Regions from separate parts of the Homo sapiens genome. Here all the other regions are linked to region 1. Evidence: promoter capture Hi-C in 16 types of primary human blood cells and fetal thymus (Javierre and others, 2016). All regions are on one chromosome and are shown on one strand. The core of a region is centred on a gene start or on the middle of the fragment in contact, and the rest is flanking DNA. Distances in the headings are between cores, read along the strand shown.

What was found. The method cuts DNA at HindIII sites, captures the fragments that hold promoters and counts their contacts. A CHiCAGO score of 5 or more calls a contact.
Region 2: the fragment with the promoter of ENSA here is called in contact with the fragment with the promoter of H2BC21 in region 1 in 1 of 17 cell types (fetal thymus); the score reaches 6.9 in fetal thymus.
Region 3: a contact is called between a fragment that was not itself captured here and the fragment with the promoter of H2BC21 in region 1, in 6 of 17 cell types (naive CD8 T cells, total CD4 T cells, activated CD4 T cells and 3 more). The highest score is 12.1, in naive CD8 T cells.
Region 4: a contact is called between a fragment that was not itself captured here and the fragment with the promoter of H2BC21 in region 1, in 1 of 17 cell types (non-activated CD4 T cells). The highest score is 5.5, in non-activated CD4 T cells.
Region 5: the fragment with the promoter of TARS2 here is called in contact with the fragment with the promoter of H2BC21 in region 1 in 1 of 17 cell types (non-activated CD4 T cells); the score reaches 5.6 in non-activated CD4 T cells.
Region 6: a contact is called between a fragment that was not itself captured here and the fragment with the promoter of H2BC21 in region 1, in 4 of 17 cell types (M0 macrophages, monocytes, M2 macrophages and 1 more). The highest score is 11.1, in M0 macrophages.

Annotation. Positions count from the first base shown.
Region 1 is chr1:149,885,018-149,889,056 of GRCh38, forward strand. H2BC21 (H2B clustered histone 21) reads right to left here and starts at 1,665. Exons shown (of 1, transcript NM_003528.3): 1 at 1-1,665. The coding sequence starts at 1,623. The coding sequence ends at 1,243. It overlaps H2AC20 (H2A clustered histone 20), which reads left to right and starts at 1,901. Exons shown (of 1, transcript NM_003517.3): 1 at 1,901-2,394. The coding sequence starts at 1,958. The coding sequence ends at 2,347. H2AC21 (H2A clustered histone 21) reads right to left here and starts at 2,948. Exons shown (of 1, transcript NM_175065.3): 1 at 2,452-2,948. The coding sequence starts at 2,899. The coding sequence ends at 2,507. RefSeq lists enhancers at 268-861, 639-718, 1,129-1,218, 1,289-1,578, 1,899-1,968 and 6 more. The HindIII fragment of the contact is 10,069 bases long and covers 1-1,867 here.
Region 2 is chr1:150,627,572-150,631,610 of GRCh38, forward strand. It overlaps ENSA (endosulfine alpha), which reads right to left and starts at 2,041. Exons shown (of 4, transcript NM_004436.4): 1 at 1,843-2,041; 2 at 1-21. The coding sequence starts at 1,899. LOC112268239 (a long non-coding RNA gene) reads left to right here and starts at 2,248. Exons shown (of 2, transcript XR_007066603.1): 1 at 2,248-2,931. RefSeq lists enhancers at 1,756-2,025, 1,768-2,735, 2,736-3,705. The HindIII fragment of the contact is 4,295 bases long and covers 1-2,371 here.
Region 3 is chr1:149,161,632-149,165,670 of GRCh38, forward strand. LOC124904581 reads left to right here. Exons shown (of 4, transcript XM_047439510.1): 3 at 1,111-1,712; 4 at 2,256-2,550. The coding sequence ends at 2,367. It also overlaps the pseudogene RNVU1-24. Among named protein-coding and RNA genes, the nearest start is that of NBPF9, 60 kb to the left of the region's middle. The HindIII fragment of the contact is 3,009 bases long and covers 276-3,284 here.
Region 4 is chr1:150,572,290-150,576,328 of GRCh38, forward strand. It overlaps MCL1 (MCL1 apoptosis regulator, BCL2 family member), which reads right to left. Exons shown (of 3, transcript NM_021960.5): 3 at 2,269-4,039. ADAMTSL4-AS1 (ADAMTSL4 antisense RNA 1) reads right to left here and starts at 2,263. Exons shown (of 4, transcript NR_104133.1): 1 at 1,835-2,263; 2 at 1,370-1,532. The HindIII fragment of the contact is 2,255 bases long and covers 813-3,067 here.
Region 5 is chr1:150,484,813-150,488,851 of GRCh38, forward strand. TARS2 (threonyl-tRNA synthetase 2, mitochondrial) reads left to right here and starts at 2,607. Exons shown (of 18, transcript NM_025150.5): 1 at 2,607-2,704; 2 at 3,046-3,242. The coding sequence starts at 2,639. LOC124904416 (a long non-coding RNA gene) reads left to right here. Exons shown (of 2, transcript XR_007066600.1): 2 at 233-542. RefSeq lists enhancers at 2,432-2,938, 2,432-2,701. The HindIII fragment of the contact is 2,845 bases long and covers 747-3,591 here.
Region 6 is chr1:149,351,117-149,355,155 of GRCh38, forward strand. It overlaps the pseudogene SEC22B2P. Among named protein-coding and RNA genes, the nearest start is that of NOTCH2NLC, 37 kb to the right of the region's middle. The HindIII fragment of the contact is 7,809 bases long and covers 1-4,039 here.

The DNA of each region.
Region 1 (4,039 bases), core at 415-2,914:
ATAAGGGTGGATCTACCATTGCCACCTCCTCTTTGTAGCAAAAAAAATCTTAACACGGCCCCCTCCCAGCTGTTGCACTGAGGTGACTAAGGATACATTTTGAGGAAGTAGCTCCAAGAACATTTCCATTTTCACTGTGCCTTCACATACATCTAATGGAAATGAACAGCACCCTTCATCCATCCACGGAAGCGATTAAGAAAAGGGTGGGATGGAAAAATTAACCCAACAATATTAGATCAATACGTAGTATTTAAGTGTCCATAATGTGCCAGGCTGAAGATGCACGGGAAAACCACACTAGCCGGTCTGTCAAGGGCTTGAGAATACCATAAACAAGAAAACAGACGAACCAATTTCAGACAGCTGCTAGAAGGAAGATAAAATGAGACAGGCAAGTATGAGAGGCGCGAATTCCTGAGTGGATGACGTAGGTCTCTGAGAGGTGACTTTTGAGCCCGTATCTACATGGTAAGTGCCTCGCAGTGACCTGGGGCCGTAGCGTTACCATTTAAAGCACAGACCATTAAATGCAGAAATTATCAACAAAATGAGAAATAGGAATTTCAAAGTCTCAAAGTGAACGACGGAAACTGAAATCTACAAATTAGAAAAAGGCGCAGAATTTTGAATATTCTTGTCGCCCAATCAGGACAAGGCTGGGACCCGGCTGCGCGGCCTTCGTCCAAAATACACAGAACGGCTGGTATCCACAGGAGGCCCCATCGCACGGCAGAACTGGTGACCGGACACAAAAGCTGCTGCCAAGCGTCAGTCATACAGAGCTGTCACGCAGTGTTTGCGGAACCCGGGCTGAATTGTGTCCTGGAGTTCTCTTAAATGACAGCCGAACTCAGCCACTTCGTTTTAGAATGAAACAGACCCAAGGAGCCACCAGGGCGCGTGTGGGGCGGGAGTGGGGGCGGGTAAAGAGGCGGATTCCCAACAGCCTAATTGAGAACCGACTCCTGGGAAGGCTAAGCAGCACAATGAGTAAAGACACGCTCTAGATTCAAAAGCAAATCCAATGACGCACTGGGGACCTCGAGTTCCAAATAGTTAAAAAGCTACGTATGCCATTTCCCATGACCTTCACACTAAAATAACTTACTTTATGAAAAGAAACTAAGGGAATAAGTGAACAAGCTCTTTTCTAGTGATTAGGTGGGTGGCTCTGAAAAGAGCCTTTGGAGTCAAGCAGCCGGCGACTCGAGCGAGCGAGCGCCAGGTCCCGGCAGGGACTCACTTGGAGCTGGTGTACTTGGTGACCGCCTTGGTGCCCTCGGACACGGCGTGCTTGGCCAGCTCGCCGGGCAGCAGCAGGCGCACGGCCGTCTGGATCTCGCGGGATGTGATGGTGGAGCGCTTGTTGTAGTGCGCCAGGCGGGAAGCCTCTCCCGCGATGCGCTCGAAGATGTCGTTGACGAAGGAGTTCATGATGCCCATGGCCTTGGACGAGATGCCGGTGTCGGGGTGGACCTGCTTCAGCACCTTGTACACGTAGATGGAGTAGCTCTCTTTGCGGCTGCGCTTGCGCTTCTTGCCGTCTTTCTTCTGGGCTTTGGTGACGGCTTTCTTGGAGCCCTTTTTAGGGGCCGGAGCGGATTTTGCCGGTTCAGGCATGGTAAGACACAGTACAAACGCGGCTTAGCCAAGAAAAGAAGTAAGAGAATGGGCGGGCCTGATTCTTTTATAACCACCTTATGCAAATTAGGGCTCCGAAAGTCGTTCATTTCCATTGGTCCGTGTGCGGACCTTGCGTTTTCAGCAATGCGTACGTAACAACACCGACTCTTGACTTGATTGGCCGGTTCTGAAGCCATATTAGGACCAATGAAAAACTCGTTCTTGACCCCACCCCTAGGAAAGCTTATAAAGGCTTTCCTCTTGGTTCTCTTTCAATCTTATTTTGTTGCGAGGTTCTGAGCGTTGTCTGTGTTTAACCTTGATTTCAGTCATGTCTGGTCGTGGCAAACAAGGAGGCAAGGCCCGCGCCAAGGCCAAGTCGCGCTCGTCCCGCGCTGGCCTCCAGTTCCCGGTAGGGCGAGTGCACCGCTTGCTGCGCAAAGGCAACTACGCGGAGCGGGTGGGGGCCGGCGCGCCCGTCTACATGGCGGCGGTCCTCGAGTACCTGACCGCCGAGATCCTGGAGCTGGCGGGCAACGCGGCTCGGGACAACAAGAAGACGCGCATCATCCCTCGTCACCTCCAGCTGGCCATCCGCAACGACGAGGAACTGAACAAGCTGCTGGGCAAAGTCACCATCGCCCAGGGCGGCGTTTTGCCTAACATCCAGGCCGTTCTGTTACCAAAGAAAACCGAAAGCCACAAAGCCAAAAGCAAATAAATGCAGACAAACAAACCAAGACCAAAGGCTCTTTTTAGAGCCACCCAAGTTTTCAAAAAAAGAGCTAATGCGCTATTTCGTGATCAGCCCTTCATTTGACACTTTGGTGGCTCTTAAAAGAGCCTTTGGGGTGAATGAGTATGGTGTCAAGCCTCTTAATTACTTGTTCTTGCCAGGCTTGTGACTCTCCGTTTTCTTGGGCAACAGGACAGCCTGGATATTGGGCAAGACGCCGCCCTGGGCAATGGTGACACCCCCGAGTAACTTGTTGAGCTCTTCGTCATTCCTCACGGCTAGTTGCAGATGGCGAGGGATGATGCGCGTCTTCTTGTTGTCCCGAGCCGCGTTGCCCGCCAGCTCCAGAATTTCCGCGGTCAGGTACTCGAGGACCGCCGCCAGGTACACCGGGGCGCCTGCCCCGACCCGCTCCGCGTAGTTGCCTTTGCGCAGCAAGCGGTGCACTCGCCCCACCGGGAACTGGAGACCAGCGCGGGACGAGCGCGACTTGGCCTTAGCGCGGGCCTTGCCTCCCTGCTTTCCGCGTCCTGACATTACGGCTAAAATTGCAGTTACAGCTTCTTTTACAAGGAGAAGAATGTGGAAAGAATAACCAATTTGATGTAATTTATAAGAGCTACCGGGAGGGGTGAAGGGAAGTCGTTTGATTGGCTAAAAGCGGAGCCGTATCTAACAGCCAATAGAAAAGCAGAAAGCCGCCTCTTGGTTTGCGTCCTGCACTGAAAGGAAATGACGGATTTTGTAAGTATCTACCAATCGCTGAGAGCCACATTAAAGCCCCTTATTTGCATGCCAGGATCTTTAAAGAGAGCAGGCTTTCAAACAAAATACTGGTTTTGTTTTACTGAGAGGCACTGTGGGTTTTTGTTTTGTTTTGCTTTGCTTTGTTTAGTTTACAGCCGGGAAATCCCAATATGGACCCTAAGGAACTGCAGAAGACATCCTTAGACGGAGAGTTACTCTCACGAAAGAGTAGGGGATTCTGAAGCCGATGATCCCCTTGAGCTCTAAACTGCCAAGTCCCGCCCTTTCTGTCTCGTCACAGCCAAATTCCCTTTAAAAATACATGTACTACTAAGGCTGCCTCCTTTCTCGCCCCTAAACTTAAGTCGCCCGCAGCGGCGTGTCTCCGCCCCACCCCCACCCGCCTGCACTCCTCGGAATCCGGTTTGACCGAGGCTAGAATAGATTTGTCATCCTCCTCTTGACCTCCAGGAGGCGGCCTTCAAACTTGCTCCCTTGGCTTTCAAAATGTCGCCCTGTTTTTCTTCTTACCTCGCCGACTTTTCTTATCCTGCTCCCCCATGCCACTGCCCATCTCTAAATCTGCGAGTCCAGCTGGACTGTTTCCCTGTCTCCAATTCTTCACTTATCCCGAAGAGTCTTACCCATTTATATGCTTTCAACTAACGTCCAAATTTGTTTCAGAAGCTCAGACCCTTATGCCTAACTGCTTACAGAATACTTCAACCTACTTATCCCAACGAGCACCTCAAACTCAAACTCTACCTCAGCCTATCCGAACGCGAACTCATACAAACAACCTCCCCTCTTTGCCCTCTTTTCCTGAAATGCACCAGCATACTTACAGATACCTAAGCCGAAATCTACTCTACTCTTCCCTTCGTCTTAGCATATCCAGTCAGTTGCTTCCTTAACATCCCTTCAGACTTT
Region 2 (4,039 bases), core at 791-3,290, 740 kb after region 1:
ACCTTCTTTCTCCTGCGTGTCCTGGAGAAAACAAATGAGCCAAATAAAATTAAAGACTGAGAAACAACAGCTTCTCACATCTGATAACAACTATACTATCAACTTCTCCTGGAAATCCACCCACTTGTAAATACGCTATCTCTACTCTGCTGTTAAAGCTAGACCTTTGTTAAAATCCCTAAAGCTCAAGATGACTATTGTGAGAGAAAAAGACAAGCTGCTTCTCACACTTCACCCAAGGAACCAGCCAGGGACCTGTGCGTATTGGGCTAAAGGTAATACTAAACACAATACTTTAATCACAGAGTGGGCCATATCACTCAGCACAAATGCTAAGAAAGACAAAGAGAAAAAAGCAGGGCTTCTGGTGATAGAGGATGAGTAGCAGGGTTCCCTAGGCTATCCTACATGTCACATGAGAAATTAAAAAAAAAATAGTTTGGGGCTGGGAGCAGTGACTCATGCCTGTAATCCCAGCACTTTGGGAGGCTGAGGCAGGTGCATCACTTGAGCTCATGAATTCACTACCCGCCTGGGCAATATGTTGAAACCCCGTCTCTACAACAACAAAAAATAGTTTGCTAAATGTTTCCTCCTTATTTTTTTCTTTCTTTTTTAAAATTGCTACACGACAAAGCAGTTCCTTCTTTATTCAAGGTCTAAGCCACCTGTTAGGTCTCCCTGTGGAGGCGGCTAGCTATGTGGCCTTCTCCAAAGATCTCCACCTGAGTAATGGCACAGCCTTGCTTCAACATTTCCACAAATATTATGGTAGCAAGCTGATAAACAGAGAGGAAAATGATACTGTTTTTAACCTCAGGAAAACAAAGATACAGTAGGCTCACTAGTATTTACCCACCAGTTTTCATCAAAAAAATCAATACCTACCCTGGTGGTGCAGGGACTCTCACTACTGTAGTCAATCTCTTTTTTTTTTTTTTGTGGTCCCTGCTGCCCTTTAGTGACTTTTTGAAAAGATATGAAGTCAACGTATGACTCTTTTTAGTGGAATTATATTCCTTTCTCTTGGAAATTACGCATAGATATAACACCAAGTGTATTTAATGAGTACCTGAACCCAGTACTAAATTTTAAAAGTCAAATACAAACCCCAATAAGGGGTTTATTTGGCGTTAGTGTTTCCATCACGGAATCGCAGGTGCACTAAGTCCCTGCCTTGGAAGTCTAGGGGAAGAGAGAAGTGTCTTTCTCACGACCCTGTCGGCGTCTTTTCCAAGTTTAATTACCATGATTCTGTTTGGAACTCTAGCCCTCTTCAATATTGCTGGGTCCTCACTGAAGGTGAGCAATAGACCATCCTTAGCTACTAAAATAGGTCTCTTGAGAAAGTTGCCGCCTTAAACTAGCCATTATAATAACTACACTTCTCCCCTCCCCCAATACTGGTTTTTTTTTAAACGTCTTTACCTCGACCCCTATCTTTGCGGATTGAGGCTGCGGGCCCCAGCCCGGTTGCTGGGTCACTTACCTCTACAAACCAATAACACACATCACACCCAAGACCACCAGCCATCCCCTTTCCATTCACCGTCTTTCCAACCACCCGCCCCACGTCCATGCTCGGCCAATTATAGCACAGCGTCCAAGGTTTGAGCGGTAGGCCTATTGGCCAATCAGGAAGAGTACAGTACTGAGTGACAAACGACCCAACTAACCAGCGCCAAAGCAGCATGTCGTGTTGAAGCTCACCCAGCGTGACGCAAAAAGTGGCCAACCCCTGCGGAGCCTGAGACCATGGCGACCAATCCGCACTGGTGGGAGACCGTCTCCCGCCCCATCACGGTCTCCCCAGCTCGCCCGCCCGCACCCCTTCCACTTCACCTGCTTCTCCTCGCCGGTCTCCTCCGCAGGGTTCTCTTCTTCTTGTTTCTGGGACATGGCGGGACCGGGACTGTGGAGTGTAAGGGGCCCGGGAAGGCAACCGGAGAAGGGAAGGGGGAGGGGAAACGGGGACAACCTGCGCTGCTGCTTCGGCTCCTGTCACTAGGGTTGCTCAGTCAAAATGGCGGCCCTTGCCCGTGACGTTGCGACCGCCCCTTCCTATGAGAGCCAGTGGGAGTGAGGTAGATAGGGCAATGACGTAACGATCTACCAATAGTCGCCGTCTAAAGGTGGGCTCTATAGAGGCGACCGGCAAGCTGGAACACCAACCTGGAAAGAGAGTGAGCCACAAGGACCAATTGGAAGCCTGTGGGGGATATCGGGGGCGGGGCTGCTGGCTGTGGTACTTTTGCAGCTTTGGTGGGCTCCGGCTTCCTTCACTCCAGCCCACCGCGTCCGAGAGACTTAGCAGGGCGTCAAACTGGAGAGCGGAAGGATGGAACCTTTTATTCTCAGGTGGAGAGGATTAAGCTTTGCGGTGTTAGCAGAAAATGATCGAGCTCCAGAAAATGATTTGGAGGTCAGATTCGATTTTAAAGTAGTACTAACAGGCCGGGCGCGGTGCCTCACGCCTGTAATCCTAGCACTTTGGGAGGCCGAGGTGGGCGGATCACCTGAGGTTAGGAGTTCGAGACCAGCCTGACCAACATGGTGAAACCCCGTCTCTACTAAAAATACAAATATTAGCCGGGCGTGGTGGCGGGCGTTTGTAATCCCAATTACTTGGGAGGCTGAGGCAGGAGAATCGCTTGAACCCTGCAGGCGGAGGTTGCAGTGAGCCGAAATCGCGCCACTGCACTCCAGCCTGGGTGACAGGACGAGACTTTGTCGCGAAAAATAAAATAAAACGGTACCAATGGTATTACGATGTGTCACTTGGCCTGTGGAAGAGAGAGACTGAGTCTCAACCCGAGCTGTCTTGCAAAACACTAATGGCTTACGTTCCGTAGTTTCACTCTTATGTGTAGTTTTTATATTCCATCAGGGTGATCCCTTGGGGACTACGCTCCTTGAAACAAGGAGGACAGTGTAAGTATGTGGTAAACATTTGGTAAATACGGTTAATACTAGTTAACCTATCCAGAATTACAGTTTAACATTTCCTGGGCGTCTGTCTGTATGTGGATGGTACTGTGTTAGTTGGGGGGGGTACGTGTATAGTAAGGCAGTCTCTGCCCTTAGAAAGCTTACAGGCCTGGCTGGGCGCGGTGACTCACGCCTGTAATGCCAGCACTCTGGGAGGCGTAGGCGGGCGAATCACTTGAGGTCAGGAGTTCGAAACCAGCCTGGCCAACATGGTGAAACCCTGTCTCTACTAGAAATACAAAACAAGGCTGGGCACGGTGGCCCACGCATGTAATCCCAGCACCTTGGGAGGCCGATGAGGGTGGATCATGATGTCAGGCGATAGAAACCATCCTGGTCAACATGGAGAAACCCCGTCTCTACTAAAAATACAAAAATTAGCCAGGCGTGGTGGCGTGCACCTGTAGTCCCAGCTACTCAGGAGCCTGAGGCAGGAGAATCGCTTTTACCTGGGAGGCGGAGGTTGCAGTGAACCGAGATCGCATCTCGCCACTGAACTCCAGCCTGGGTGACAGTGAGAGTCCGTCTCAAAAAAAAAAAAAAAAAAAGAGTGGCAGATAAGAAGTGCTCTTTATGGAGATAATTTGGTGGTAATGAATAAAAAGACTCAGAATTCCAAGCAGAAAACTACCAGAGATGAACAGTCTAGCCGAGTCCTCTGCAAACGTTAGGTGGGAGATAATTAGGATTTAACCTAGAAACGTAGTAGTTAAGAATAGAAAATAGTGAACCTAACCAAGAGAGTCTGTGACAATGGAATCCACTAGACTAGCAGCTGACTGAATAGAGAATGAGAAGACTGTGTGCCTCAAGGTGATTATTTATAGAAACAATAAATTCAAGAAGAGGAGTCAATTTGGGAATGGAGCTGAAAAGCAGAGAGAAAATAAGGCATTCAGTTTTGAAAACATGGACTTTTTTTTTTTTTTTTTTTTTTTTTTGAGACGGAGTCTCGCTCTGTCACCCAGGCTGTAGTGCAGTAGCACAATCTCAGTTCCCTACAACCTCTGCCTCGCGGGTTAAAGTGATTCTCCTGCCTCAGCCTCCCGAC
Region 3 (4,039 bases), core at 530-3,029, 720 kb before region 1:
GGCACTCGCTGCTCAGTGCACATGAGCTAGAGAGGAGTGGAGGCCTCAGCACAGGGCCTGGTACTAACTCGAGAGATATTTGTTGTGCCCTATACCCAGCAGATACTGAGTACATGCTCAATGTTGTCATTATTTTGATAGATATTTTCTTAAATCTGGATTATCATCCTTCAGTTTGGATAAGACAGACAATATTGATGGGTTGGGGTACTTTGTCAAAGAATGTAAAGAAAGATAATGTGAAGAAAGGCAATTTTGTGATTAAAAAGGAAGCTTTATTCTTAGATTTGTTAATAAGTGTCTCTTACTGAATTATTTGCTTATTAGGCAAAACAGTGATATCATTGAATCATTCTAAAATTCCTTCCCTTTTATGTCTTGAGGTTATGAACACATGTAAGGCACCTCACCTGGCATCTGACAAACTCAACGAGACAATGAATGAACCAGAATAAATAATCATCTATTTTTTTTTCTCCCTGAACATTTCTACAGTTGAGACAGTCTTAGAATTTCTCTCTTGCATGCCAGGATATTAGACTGTTGAAATTGAATTCTTTTTTTTTTTTTTTTTTTTTTTGAGACGGAGTCTCGCTCTGTCCCCCAGGCTAGAGTGCAGTGGTGTGATCTCGGCTCACTGCAACCTCCGCCTCCAAGGTTCACGCCATTCTCCTGCCTCAGCTTCCGGAGTAACTGGGACTACAGGCACCCGCCACGACACCTAACTAATTTTTTTGTATTTTTTAGTAGAGACGGGGTTTCACCGTGTTAGCCACGATGGTCTTGATCTCCTGACCTCGTGATCCGCCTGCCTCGGCCTCCCAAAGTGCTGGAATTACAGGTGTCAACCACCGCGCCCGGCTGAAATTGAATTTCTTTCTTTTCACCAGCTCGAATTTCTTCTTCTCATGTAAGGTCATCTTACATAAGTGAGACTCCTTTGTTCCCTTTCCCTTAATAACAAGCCTACACGGAGGTGAAGGTGGTGAACGCACCTCTTCTCATCTCAAAACATCCACGTGCTCTTCCATTTTTTTCTAACAAAGAAGGGAGAGGAGGTGACATGAAAACACACCACGGATATTGTTCAGCATTTGTAAAAGCTGAAAGTATCACTTGGTAGACAAACTGCTTTTTGCACTACAACCTCCAGAAGAAAGCGCGAACGCAATTCCCCACCACCACAAATTACAGTCCAGTTTCCCCACATGTGGAAGTAACAGGAGTCAGTCAGCACATACTGAGTACAATGGAGAAATCGCCCCCGAGAAACATCAACTTCATGGCCGTATTTTCTCCTGTTACGTAAGTACGAATGAACGCACCTCCGCCCTGCCACAGCTCCATACGCCTCACCCCTTACACGCACGGTCACTTGCCCCGCGCATTCCCCCACCCCGCCCCCATGCCGCCTCAAGTCCTCCTAGCCCTGACACACAGCTGGGACTATCACGTCCAACCGGAGGTCCTGGACTAGCTCCCACAGCACGAGAAATCTTTCGTGGCGAAGCAGCAGCCCCTGAGCTGCCTCCTCTGCATAGGAATCGCCCTATCTGTGATGTCACCGACAGCGCCTTTCCCGTCCCCGTCTGCTCTTCCGCCCCACCCTCTGCCACTCGGCCGACCAACCAGCTGCGGGAGCGGGCGGAGGAAGTGACACCTGACTCTACCTCCTTTCCCTCCCATCCCCGTCCCTGGTCTCTCCCAAAGAAGTAGGTTCTTAGCCTGTGATGCAAAGGACCCCTTTGGCGGCCAGCTGGAGCCTGTGCGCTTTTCTTCAAATAATGGCTTTTAAAGCTCAGACTAGAAAGTTTAGGATTACAAAGAAAAACGGTTTTCACATACGGTTATCCTTGTGATGTAGCATTTCGCTTGACATTTGGAAGTCGTTCAATATCAGAGAGAAACCGTATCTATGAAACTAGAGAGGCTGCTCAGATGACTGCAAACCAGCCATCCTTACTTGTTTTATCACTAGGAGTATTATAAAGACGGTCGTCCAGTTTCATGAATCTTGTAGGGTTTTTTTCAGATACAGCAATGTACAAAAATGTGCTGCCCCAGCAGAGCACACTGGACACTCAGGCATGGTGCTGGAGTTTGTCATCTCTTCACTGCCTTCTCTAGACCTTAGCGCTTACCTCATGTTAACACTTTATATGCTGCGAAGACAGAAACACAGTCATCCAAATTTGGCAAAAATATTTGGGAGAAGTTTTATTTCAGGTGTTTAACTGATTACTTTTAATATGTAGACTACAACACCAAACTCTGAGAATACTCCACAGACTTATTAATGGTTTCCACCCCCGTCTCTGCAAATCTATCAGGCAAGTTTTTCCTGCCCTTTACTTTCATATAAGCTGAGTCACAGTCTGTAGTGGGTTTTGGGGGGAGTGTTACTGCCCAACAGGTACACCCTGCCTGCTGCCTAGACAGAGCCAATTTTTCGACACAGGGGAATTGCAATAAAGAGCTGCACTCTTTATTTGGTGATTGGGGGCCGGTGAATTGAGAGTTCTGCTTGGCCAGGTCGGAGATGAAATCACAGGGAGCTGAAGCTGTGGTCTTGTGCTGGGTCAGTTCCTGCTTGGGGGCCACAAGACCAGCTGAGCCAGGTTATCAGTCTAGCTGGTGCCAGCTGATCCACTGAGTGCAGGGTCGGCAAAATATCTCAAGCACTGATCTTAGGTTTTCCAATAACGATGTGATCTCCAGGAACAATTTGGGGAGGTTTAGAATCTTGCAGCCAGAGGCTACATGACTCCTAAACCATAATTTCTAATCTCGTGGCTAATTTGTTAGTCCGGCAAAGGCAGTCTAGTCCCCAGGCAGGAAGGGGGTTTGCTTCCGGACAGGGATATTATCATCTTTGTTTCACAGCTAAACCATAAACTAATTTCCTCCCAAAGTTATTTCGGCCTGTGCCCAGCAATCAACAAGGACAGCTTGTACGTTAGAAGCAAGATGGAATCAGTTAGATCAGATCTCTTTCACTGTGGTAATTGTCCCAGTTGTAATTTTTGCAAAGGCGGTTGCAGAAGCAGAGGCATAGGTCTGACTTCTTTCACTCAGTCCTATGTCTATGAATTTTTCATGTTATTCATATGGTTATTTGGTTCTACGTGTATTCCTTTGTAGGAATATACATTAACTTATGTATTTATTCTACTGTTGTTGAACATGTTGACCTAAAAGAAGGAGGCTGAAGCACAAAATATAATTTAGAGTTTACTTGAGTCAACATGAAGACAACTGCCTGGAAGACTCACACCAAGGAAGCTTGGATCTGAGCTCCCTTTGGTCTTTGTCACAAGCAGGTTTTTATTTTTTATTTTTTATTTTTTATTTATTTATTTATTTTGAGACGGAGTCTCACTCTGTCGCCCAGGCTGGAGTGCAGTGGCGCGAACTCTGCTCCGCCTCCCGGGTTCTCGCCATTCTCCTGCCTCAGCCTCCCTAGTAGCTGGGATTACAGGCACCCGCCACCACGCCCAGCTAATTTTTTTTGTATTTTTTTAATAGAGACGGGGTTTCACCGTGTTAGCCAGGATGGTCTCGATCTCCTGACCTCATGATCCGCCTGCCTCGGCCTCCCAAAGTGCTGGGATTACAAGCGTGAGCCACCGCACCCTGCCCACAAGCAGGTTTTTAAAGTTCAAAAGCAGGGACAGACAGTGGGCTGATAGGTGCCTATCAGGAATTCTCATTGGTTTACAGAAATAACATTGCTTGGTGATTGGCTATATGTTGTTAAGTTATAGGGTATGGGGGTATAGGGATTGGTGTGGCATTATTAGGTTAATTTACAGCTACTTGAGGCAATAGCAAGCAGTTTCAACGGATGAATACATAGCTCAGCGCAGCTCAAAAGGAAGGAGCGGAAAGTGGTTGCTGTCTCGATTTAACGTCTCTCTGGGCCTGATCATTTGAAAGGGCTCACATTCCTCAGATAAAAAGTTTTTTTAATCTTTCTTCTTGAAAGCATCGATGATCAAAAGCTAAGTCAAGGGTGTCCCTCTTTGCCAGAAAGGCTCAT
Region 4 (4,039 bases), core at 690-3,189, 690 kb after region 1:
GCGCCCGCCACCATGCCCAGTTAATTTTTTTTATTTTTAGTAGAGATGGGGTTTCACTGTATTGGCCAGACTGGCCTCAAACTCCTGACCTCATGATCCCTCCACCTTGGCCTCCCAAAGTGCTGGGATTACAGGTGTGAGTCACCGTGCCTTTTTTTTTTTTTTTTTTTTGAGACAGCGTCTGGCTCTGTCGCCCAGGCCCCGGAGTGCAATGGCATGATCTCAGCTCACTGCAACCTCCGCCTCCCGGGTTCGAGCGATTCTCCTGCCTCAGCCTCCCAAAGTGCTGGGATTACAGGCCTGAGCCACAGCGCCCGACCCGGAGAGCTGTTTCTTAATCTGCCTGGAGGAAAATCCCCAGCCCCCAACTTTCCACATACTTCACATAGATAACACTGTAACAACTTTGAAACTAAGAGGGAGAGAATTAAGTTTTCAAATTTGAAATTGAGAAGCCTTTGAAGAGTGGCAGCGTTCTAGAAAGTTCCATGATTGAACAAGTGAAGCAAAAAACTAGGATAGACTCAACTGACCATCTGAACTCCAGGAATTAATAGCCAGTGCTTTGGGCATCTGGCTGGAGCCATGGTACGCACCAGTTGTACAAGTTATTTCATTTTAATTTTGTAAAAAAAAAAAAAAAAATCCTTCGGCTGTCACAACTGTTTTAAATAAAAATTTTGTGAAAAAACAGTATGAAGACGTTGCTCTAGATACAGAACAGGAACTGAGAAAGTCTGGTTGTGTCAAATAAAGCAAAGTGTTGATAATTCTGACTACTGATTAAGGTTACCCAGTTACTATTAAATCCAAGCTTTTAAGGTGCTGAGCAAAGGAACACTGTACCAGAAACGGCTTCACATCATAGCACGTCAATGGGAGCAATAGCACTAACTTAACTCAGGCCAAGACTTGGGCTTGGGTCCTCTGTGGCTGCTACTCTCCTACCACACCTTTGCTTGGGAGTGCACTTACACAGCTTTCTTTGTAATGATACAAAAAGTTGCTGCCTTTTGGTAGTTAGGCTCCAGAAAGGGGCTTCCAAACCAAAATGCACTTTTAAATAGAAATGCAACTGACTGCAGGGAGGCACAGAATCCTGATTGCCTGATTAGCATATGGTGCTCAGGGCTTAAAACCAAGTATGCAAACCTCACATTTGCACATTTCCATGGTGATTCAGCTCACTTTCAAGGTAGCTGAAAATAAAAGCAGGATAGGGGTTTTTGAAATTGACTGGCTTCTTTTTACCTCCTTTTGGAAAGCAGAAGGGGAAAAGCACTGCTGCCAAGAACTTCATCAAAACTCTTTAACTTTAGGTATTATTTAGGTGTTATGATAGAGTAACTGCTGTACAGTACCCTCTTACCTCAAGATCAAGGCTGGGCGCAGTGGCTCAGGTCTGTAATCGCAGCACTTCGGCTGAGGCGAGTGGATCACTGAGGTCAGGACTTCAAGACCAGCCTGACCAACACGGCAAAACCCCGTCTCTACCAAAAATAGAAAAATTAGCCGGGCATGGTGGCGGGCACCTGTAATCCCAGCTACTCGGGAGGCTGAGGTTGCAGTGAGCCGAGATTGCCCCACTGCACTCTAGCCTGGGCAAAAGAGTGAGACTGTGCCTCAAAACAAAACAAAACAAAACATACCAACACCTGGTGATTCAAAAAAATCAAGACAGAGGCTGGGTGCGATGGCTCACGCCTGTAATCCTGGCACTCTGGGAGGCAGAGGTGGGCAGATCACCTGAGGTCGGGAGTTCAAGACCAGCCTGACCAACACGGAGAAACCCCATCTCTACTAAAAATACAAAATTATCTGGGTGTGGTGGCGCATGCCTGTATTCCCAGCTACTCAGGAGGCTGAGGCAGGAGAATCATTTGAACCTGGGAGGCGGAGGTTGCGGTGAGCGGAGATCGTGCCATTGCACTCCAGCCTGGACAACAAGAGCAAAACTCCATCTCAAAAAAAAAATAATAAATAAATAAATCAAGACAGAAATTTTGATTTTAAAGAGGTTTTTGATTTTACTTGGAGGTTTAAGAACTCCTCTAAGTACAGCAGTAATATATTTAATTAAAAACCCAACACCTCTAATTAGAATTGAAGAAAGGAACTGTCCTTTGCTCTAAGGCAAATCAACTTTGTGAGGCTTTTGCTTTGAATTCACCTGTACATATTTGCTCAGCTGACTTCTCTAAAAGGTTTGCCTAAGAGAGGGAAGGAAAAAGAGGCGTCGATGAGAAAAGACCCATATCACACCCTGTATTTGAATAAAAGATTTATTTTTTTTTCTCAGGAAAAACAGAAAGTTAGGGAAACACACTACATTTGACAACCAACATTAATTTGTAGTTGGTCCTAACCCTTCCTGGCACAGCTATCAAAAGTACAGCTGTTTAACCAGAACCAAGGTGTTCACCCCCCACAGAATGTACATGAAACACTAGAGGACTGCATGTTTTTCCCTGAGAGAAGCGTAAGACAAACAGAAGTCAAAAAGTAGTCACTGGGAGCGCCATCCTTCTAAGCAAATCCTCCCTTTCCCTTTTGGAGGATTTGCCCGAACTACGTAGCCAGTCAGCACTTAGACCACCTGCCTCCTCCTCCCCCTATAAACCCACCACTCCCCTCCTCCTTTCCCAAACCACTTGGGGTGTCCTAAGCCCTCACTGCCCCAAGCCCAAAATATCAACTAAGATCCTTGTCTGTATTTCCACAGTCATACCTAATGAATTGGGAAGTGGGGCCCCTAAAAACCAATTCACATCTATGCACTTGTTTCCACTGGATTTGGCAGACAGGCTTTTTTAGTTACCGTAACCAGATCTTAAGATTAATTAAAAACTACATAAAGTGCTTTTAGGTCCTTAGAGATACATGATATAAATAAGCGGCTTATGATCAAGAACGATAAATACATAGGTAAAAATAGCTCTAGCAAAGATGACCTTATGGCTCTGAGATGGGCAGGCAGGGCAGTTCTTCCCCATTACATTCTTAGTCATCTTATTCATACCTATTTTTAAATGGAGTCCACAGACTAAAGGTCATGTTCCGAGACTGAAGCTTTCAAATGACCCTAGTTCCAATATAGACACTTTCTTCAGTTTATCAGTAGCTTTTAAACTCTGAGGTTTAACACAGCTCACCTCTTTCTGTAAATTTAAGTGAGCATACTCCTATACAAAGGAAACTTTAGAGAAAGCCTCATAAAATGTTCTTTCCTCTGAAAATTCCTGAGGGGACTTTTGACACATTGCCCCCAAAGACAGGATAAAACAATAGTTGAAAAGATACCAGTCCAAGGAAAAGGGACTTCCTCCCACCTCTCAATGACTGTTAGTGTCACAGCACCCATGGTATTACCACCTGCTAACAGGATCAAGTTCGTGAAAGATGAAAGGTCTGTGGACTCTTGGTGGGGAGGGAGGGTCACTCAGGTTTCCAGCAGGGGTTTCACAGTGCCAAAATCTAAAAGGGCTAGAAAGAGTTCAGGGATGGCAGGGGAAAGCTGTAGGAATTGATATAAATATCTGTAGAGGGAGCAGAACAATCAGCAATTTCAAGGAAGGACAGGAAATAAAAGGTTAAGTCTGATAGAACAAACATCAAGACTGAAATCCAAAGATGCCAATGCAAAAACTTGCAACAAGGTTTGGGAATCATTAATAGAAACAAAACAGTAAGTATTTGCTTTATTGACATACTAGGCTTAGACCTGTGTGTGTAACAAGCAAGCCTAATAATAGCACCATGGTTAGACTAGCCTGCTTTTCCAAGCCATCATTTTATAATTTATTAAGCAAACAAGGGATCAAATGTCTCTCCATCCACCTGATGTGATCTTTTTATATGCACACAGCTAATGAGTTCCATTCAGCTGAAAATCTTTTAGTAAAAGCTTTAAAGATGAGCCCATGAATTCACTTTAAATTTCACCAGTTAAATTAGGTCAAATGGAAGGAACTCAAATGAGTATTGCCCAATCAGAGCCCATTATTTGTAAGTCATCAGTAACCTTAAAACTCCACTTAGA
Region 5 (4,039 bases), core at 1,357-3,856, 600 kb after region 1:
ATCAAATCAATACCGTGATTGGTACATACTTGATTCAATAATTATTGGGCACCTACCATTTTGTTGCCTGCAATACACCTTTCCCCTTTTGGTGCAGAGGCATGAGAAGAATTCTGCCTGTTGCCACCCTTTCTGAATGCCATTTAAAAATTCTTAACTACCTTCTCCAAACCACACACACACAAGTTATCTTCCTCTCCCACACTCTTGTCTCTTTCTCTTTGTATTTCAGGGTGTCTACCAGAAGATGGACCCAAGATCCATGGAGGCTCCTGTGACTCAGATCAACTGCCCTGCCCGGGAAACCTGGTCTCTCCGGAAACCTTGATTAAACTGCTTTTTCTGACACCTCTTCCTCTACAACCCTTGATTCTATCACCATTGAAACTTCAGAACCAACTCTAACCATCCCCACCTCCAGGTGAGGGGACTAATGAGAATTACTGACAGCCTGATGGCTACCCCCAAGTCAGTTTCCCTTCATACTTTACTACAAATCTGACCATGTTCCCATATTTACTGAGTAAATTTGATGAAATTTACCTAGTCCTGTGTCCTAGATGTATCAGGGAGAGGGAAGAGAAAGGATAAAGGAAGTTGAGAGCTGGGATAGGAATTAGAGGCAAAGGGCTTATGTAGGGAGCAGAGAGCTAAAATTCTAGTCAGGCACCTCTTTCTGAGGTGATGGGGGAGTATACTGGGAGCAAACTCTTCTAGAGAAAGCATGGTGTGGTAAAAGAAAACCAAGCTTGGATTCAGAAATCACCATCAGCACTTGCTGTTTGACCTTAAATTCCTCATCTGTCAGATTAAAAGGTCTCGGCCGGGCATGGTGGCTCACGCCTGTAATCCCAGCACTTTGGGAGGCTGAGGCAGGCGGATCACCTGATGCTGGGAGTTCGGGACCAGCCTGACCAACATGGAGAAACCCTGTCTCTACTAAAAATACAAAATTAGCTGGGCCTGGGGTGGCACATGCCTGTAATCCCAGCTACTCGGGAGGCTGAGGCAGGAGAAGCGCTTGAACCTGGGGAGGCGGAGGTTGCGGTAAGCCGAGATCACGCCACTGCACTCCAGCCTGGGCAACAAGAGTGAAACTCCATCTCAAAAAAAAAAAAAAAAGATTAAAAGGTCTATAAAGTCCCTATTAAGCACCATGAGTATAAAGGGACTCAAACTGACCTCTGCAGATTCTTGATTCCAGCTTTTTTGTTTTTGTTTTGTTTTGAGATGAAGTCTCGCTCTTGTCCCCCAGGCTGGAGTGCATGGCGTGATCTCGGCTCACTGCAACCTCCACCTCCCGGGTTCAAGCGATTCTCCTGTCTCAGCCTCCCAAGTAGCTGGGATTACAGGCGCCCACCACCATGCCCAGCTAATTTTTGTATTTTTAGTAGAGACGGGGTTTCACCATGTTGGCCAGGCTGGTCTAGAACTCCTGACCTCAGGTGATCCACCCGCCTCGGCCTCCCAAGTAGCTGGGATTACAGGCGCCCACCACCACGCCCAGCTAATTTTTGTATTTTTAGTAGAGACGGGGTTTCACCATGTTGGCCAGGCTGGTCTAGAACTCCTGACCTCAGGTGATCCACCTGCCTCGGCCTCCCAAAGTGCTGGGATTACAGCGTGAGCCACTGCGCGCGGCCATCTTTGCTCCAGCTTTAAAGTGGTTACTCCAGAGGCTGAGGTGGTCAGTTGAGCCCAGGAGGTCGAGACTGCAGTGAGCCATGATTGTACCCCTGCACTCCAGCCTGGGCAACGGTGAGACCTTGTCTCAAAATTAAAAAATAAAACTGTTACAGTCATTTATCATAATAGCTTCTTGTTGCTTTTGCCCATTACCAAAAAACCATGGGCCACACTAGACGATTTACATAAAATTTAACTCAACAATTGGGAGCAACACTATTCTCATTTTATAGTTGAGAAAATTGAGGCTTAGAGAAATTAAATAGGTCAGGCAAGGCGGCTCATGCCTGTAATTCCAGAACTCTGGGAGGCCGGAGCGCGGTGGCGGTTTGGTGGGGGGGAGGGGAGGGATTGCTTGAGGCCAGGAGTTCGAGACTACCCTGGCCAACATAGTGAGACCCGCCCCCCCCTCCCGCCCCCCCCGGTCTCTATTAAATAAATATGAGAAGTTTAATAATTTTCCCAAAATTACATAGTTAATGGCAGATCCAGAATTTACACTAGGTCTGTCTGGTTCCCCAGTCTATGCTCTTAAGTTTTGCTACTTGCTGTAAGGACCACGTAAAATAAAATGTATAGTTAAAGGGAAATTACTACCATTTCCTGTCTGGTTTTCTCCCACTCTCGCCCTCAAAAGTTCACCTGCCCTTGTCCTCAAAGCCACAGGACGCCTAATTGCTATTTTTGGGTTTCAGCTGAAACGCCACGGGTCTGGGGGAATAGCGAGGGTGTGTTACATTTTCGGTCTTCCGGTCAGCCGGAACCACTCACACCGCTGCTGGTGCTGTGTAGGGTGTACCTCTTCGGAGTTCCTGGAGGTGGTGCCAGACTAGAGTGGCAGCTGTAGTAACCAATAGACACGGACTTTGTTGGACCAGAAGCCAATGAAGAATTACGTGGAGGAGAAGCGGCGATAATCTGTTTGAGGATGTAGGCACTGGTGTGAAGGAACATGGCCCTGTATCAGAGGTGGCGGTGTCTCCGGCTCCAAGGTTTACAGGCTTGCAGGCTACACACGGTGCGTGAGGCACCCCCAAAGCTCCGATCCGCATCAGACTTAGCCCAGCCGAAGCCCCCAAATTTTTATGTTAACCCAGCCTCACGCCACTCCTCCTCTCCCTGGTCCTCCGAGTCCCCAGAAAAGGACTCGTATCTAAACTCGTTATCTAATTCTCGAGTTAGCGGTCTGGGGGACTCTGAGCTCGAAGGACCCCCAGCCTAGGGTCTTGTATCACCCAATCCCCTTAAAAAGTAGGAATTCGGACGAAGTCCACTTAACCATCCCAAAGTGCCATCATCTGCAATTCTAAGAAAGAATGATGGGACGTGTGTTACCTGCTAATATATCTTTCCCTCCAGGCAGTTGTGTCGACCCCTCCACGCTGGTTGGCAGAGCGGCTTGGCCTTTTTGAGGAGCTGTGGGCTGCTCAGGTAAAGAGATTAGCAAGCATGGCACAGAAGGAACCCCGGACTATTAAGATATCACTTCCTGGAGGCCAGAAAATTGATGCTGTGGCATGGAACACAACCCCCTACCAACTAGCCCGGCAGATCAGGTAACAGGCCCATCCTGTAACTACCAGGATTATCCTTCTGCCCCTTTACTTTCTCTTCACTTGAGCAGGGGAAGAAAACTTGGTCTGCTTGTTTCTGTTCCGTCCCCATTAAGATAGCCTTTCCTGAAGATTTTGTTTTTGTTTTTTGTTGTTGTTCTTTTATACAGACGGGGTCTCTCCATGTTGCCCAGGCTAGTCTTGAACTCCTGGGCTCAAGCGATCCTTCCATCTCAGCCTCCCGAAGTGCTGGGATTACAGGCATGAGCCACCAAACCCGGCCTGAGATTTGTTTTATCTGTATTAGTTTCTGCATCAGAGTCTCTGTCCTTTCATTGGGGAAAGAAATGAAAGCTTCTGTTGCTCTGGTAACTCATTTCACCTTTGCAAGTTTACAGTTGCTGAGAGATGAGCAACTTTCTCCCCACTGTGGATTGTAACCCTGTCTGTTTTAAATCATTAATTTACTTTTTAATAATTGATACATAATAATTGAACATATGAATGGGTATATGTGATATTTTGATATATGCATACAATATGTAATGATCAAATCAGGGTGTTCAGGATATCTGTTACCCCAAACATTTATCATTTCTTTGTGTTGGGACTATTTCAAATCTTCTAGCTATTTTGAAATATACAATAAATTATTATTAACTGTATTCACCCAACTCTGCTATGGAACATTAGAGCATATTCCTTCTGTCTAACTCTATTTTTGTACCCATTAGCCAACCTCTTCATCTCCCCTCCCCCATCCTTTCCAGCCTCTGGTAACTATCACTCTATTCTCTACC
Region 6 (4,039 bases), core at 463-2,962, 530 kb before region 1:
TCTCGTTTAGCCAGCCTCAAAGTATTTAGGCTAGATTTTTAAAAAAGTTTGCATGGTACAGAGATTCTGCTTTAAACTGTTGTCAGTGCTATTACTTTACAGACAACTTTGTCTTGCTTTTTATGTCTCACCAGCTACATTATTGAGCAGGGGGTGTGTGATTTGGTTTTATGTGAAGCTGCCTTCCCTAAGACGTTGGCTTTTGCCTACCTAGAAGATTTGCACTCAGAATTTGATGAACAGCATGGAAAGAAGGTGCCCACTGTGTCCCGACCCTATTCCTTTATTGAATTTGGTAAGTTTTTGCCCCTCACTTCTCTCTATCAAGGGAGCAAACAATATGGAGAAGCTATTTGTTACACTGATATAATATTTATACATTTTTTCTGATGTTTACTTGCTGAAGTTTTAGCTTCTGCTTCCTTTTCCATTCCACTTCTTTTTGTCTTTTTGAGTGACTAAGGCTTTGTTCTGAAAAGTAATTTTCTCTAGTCTTTTGATCTTTCCTCCATAGAAATTGTTGCCTTTTGCCCTTTCTGTTATTTGGTTTGATTCTTCTTTAGAGTCACATGTGACAGGAACTTTGCTAAAGATCTACTTGATTGGCATATAATGGCTGAGTTCTTCTTTACCCCAGTCCACAGACTCACACTCACAATAAGGCTCATTTTATGGAGATCAGAATTGGGAAATCAGAAAGAATGATGTTTTGTTTCTTTTAGTAGAATAAGATCCTCTAATTAAAAAAACAAAACAGAACAAAGAAATAGAAGATACCTGGTACTCATGGTATTGGGGTATAATATTTACTACATTCAGGAATGGTGAGCATAGGTGTCTGTATTTGTACAAGAATTATAGAAAGACCAATTACTAATCAGACCTGGTAAAGTATCTGATGGTAAGGGATCAAAGGAAATGTCCTAAGTACAGTAAGTACAGGGAGTGAGAACAAGTAGGATCAGGCTATATCGCTGCAATTTTTAGTTAAAAGAGAAATTGGTTTTACTGGCTTAGAATTTTTGAAGTGTTTCAAGTTTGCTAGATAAATGGGTCATCTTGCTTTGGAAAAACACTCTAGTGTTTCATAACTATATACTCTCCAAGTGCTGCTTTATATAATGTCCAGTTTTTCAAATTTTATTTTTATAGACAGTAATACTCCCATAAACCTCCCTCAAAAAGAAGACAAATGTATCAGGGTCATACAGGAAACAGATGGCACACCCAAATTAGCTTAAGGGATTATATACAAAGATATGACTAGGCTGTAGGAGAATTACAAGGTACAGTAACCTCTGACCAGTAGCATACTGGTTGTTACCATCCCTAGGCCTGAATGTATAAGGGGGAGGAGCAGTTTCTGAAACTGAAAAGGAGAAAATTTCTAGAGAAGGCCAACTTGAGAGGAGCGTAACTTTTGGTAGAGGGATACTTCCAGAAGAAGGTTATTTCCTTCTCTGAAAGAAGCCAGGGGAATAAATACCCGGACATCACTCACTGTCTGTTCTCCTTCTTCCCTACTGTTGGGGCTTCTTCATTGCCTGAACCTAACTGGCACAGAGCAAGGAGTCTATTGAGGCGCTTCATCCAAGTCAGCTTCCCAGTGCAGAAAGCAAGGTGCAGGAGGGCAGAGAGGAGATCTAAAGAGGCAAATGAAAGGGGTACAGCACACTTAAATTAAGATTTTTGCCAAATGTTGAAAATATCTTTAATAATAAGTCGTTCTTCCTATAGTTTTGAGAAATACTGATATGAGCAAAAGATGGATGAGACTTCAGTTTTTATTTATTTATTTATTTATTTACTTAGAGACAGAGTCTCGCTCTATTGCCCAGGCTGGGGTGCAGTGGCATGATTTTGGCTAACTGCAACCTCTGCCTCCTAGGTTCAAGTGATTCTTGTGCCTCAGCCTCCTGAATAGCTGGGACTAGAGGTGCACGCTGCCATGACCAGCTAGCTAATTTCGGTAATTTTGGTAGAGATGGGAGTTTTGCCTTGTTGGCCAGGCTGGTCTCGAATTCCTGGCCTCAAGTGATCCACCCATCTTGGCCTCCCAAAATGCTGGGATTTATACGTGTGAGACACAGTACCTGGCCGAGACTTCAGTTCAGTTTTATATTGGTATTTTGGAAAACTCCCTATTACATACTTGCTTTACCTGAGGTTTAAGAATGGAATGAAACTGGGAATGTATATTAGAGAAAATAAGGTAAAGTTTCTCAGCTTTTTAATGATCATGAGCCCTTTTGCCATGTTAGGCTGTAATAATGCTAGAGTGTTACCAGCATCCTTTTAAGGAATGTGTAGAGGTAAGTAACACTTAGCCTAAGGGTCCTCAGAATACTGTTTGAAAATTTCTGTTTTCAGGAAAGGCTTACTATAGTGGGTCTTAATTTCTCTAAGGATTCTGATAGCAGCCTTAGATAGCAAATACTTCTAATTTAAAGGTATTCAAAGGACATTTCTCCTGAATGGTCGTCTAATTATACCTTTACATCTTACAAATGAAATAATCAAAGCCTAGATTTTGATATTCAACCAAGAGTTTGGTTAACCATGGACAGTGGCAAATCCAGGAATAAAGACAGAACTGTTTTGGTTTTTTTGTTTTTGTTTTTGAGACAGAGTCTTGCTCTGTCACCCAGGCTAAAGTGTGGTGGTGTGATCTCAGCTCAGTGCAACCTCTGCCTCCCAAGTTCAAGTGATTCTCCTGGCTCAGCCTCCTGAGTAGCTGGGATTATAGGCGTGTGCCGCCACGCCTGGCTAACTTTTTATATTTTTAGTAGAGACGGGGTTTCACTGTGTTAGCCAGGATGGTCTCGATTTCCTGACCTCATGATTCACCTGCCTTGGCCTCCCAAAGTGCTGGGATTACAGGTGTGAGCCACCGTGCCTGGCCAACTCAGAACTTTTAATTTCCTACCTCAGTACTTTGATGGCCATGAAAGAAATGGTCAGTTTTCTTCATCATTCTAGATACTTTCATTCAGAAAACCAAGAAGCTCTACATTGACAGTTGTGCTCGAAGAAACCTAGGCTCCATCAACACTGAATTGCAAGATGTGCAGAGGATCATGGTGGCCAATATCGAAGAAGTGTTACAACGAGGAGAAGCACTCTCAGGTATCTAAAAGCAATGAGTCTTATGAAGAAATGGTTCTCATTCCATAGACAAGGATAGCTTATTTTGCAGTGCCTTTTATGCTATTAGATTCTACCTAGAACTGTTAAGAATTTATCTCCCAGAAGTACATTACATTACAATGCTTCCAATATATTTTTTTTCCTAGCATGATTAGTTTTTGTTGAGTTGGAACAGTGTAAAGGACTCATCCATATTAGAAGCAATGATTATTTCTAAGATATTCACAAAATTAATTAAATTATATAACTTGTATAAATTAAGGGAAATGAATGAGAGAAAACTCAACAATGTATTGCAGTGGTTTTTTGAGTAGCCTCTTTGGGAGACTTTACTGCTGCCAGATCAATCTTTATAAAATGCCATTTTCATCAAAGCATTCCTCTCTGAAAAACTTTTAAATCTGGGACTACAAGATAAGATCCAGTCTGACTTATTTTTCCGTCAGTCAGCCATTGTTATTGAGAGCTTGTTATTTGTAAGGCGTTGTGCTCTACATATGGAAAATAAGGAAGATGCAAATGTCTGTCATTCTCTAGTTCACAAACATTCTTCTGTAGCCACACCAGCTTCTTTACTATCCTTAGTGGTCCTTAGAACAGAATACTGCCTTATGCTGGACCTGTTCTGTATGTAAGACCTCCATAAGAACTGTCTCTTTAAAGAACCTTTCTCTGATCCTTATAGCCTGTATCACATTAATCTCTTCTGTCCTTTAAACTCCTAAAGCACTTAGTAACATAATGGTTTTAGCACATATTACATGTATGTGTGTTTACCTAATTTACCTTAAATATATTTATTAAATACCTCTTACCATATTAAATATATATTTAATATATATTAAATATATTTCCATATAACATAAGTATATGTTTCATATATTTATATTAA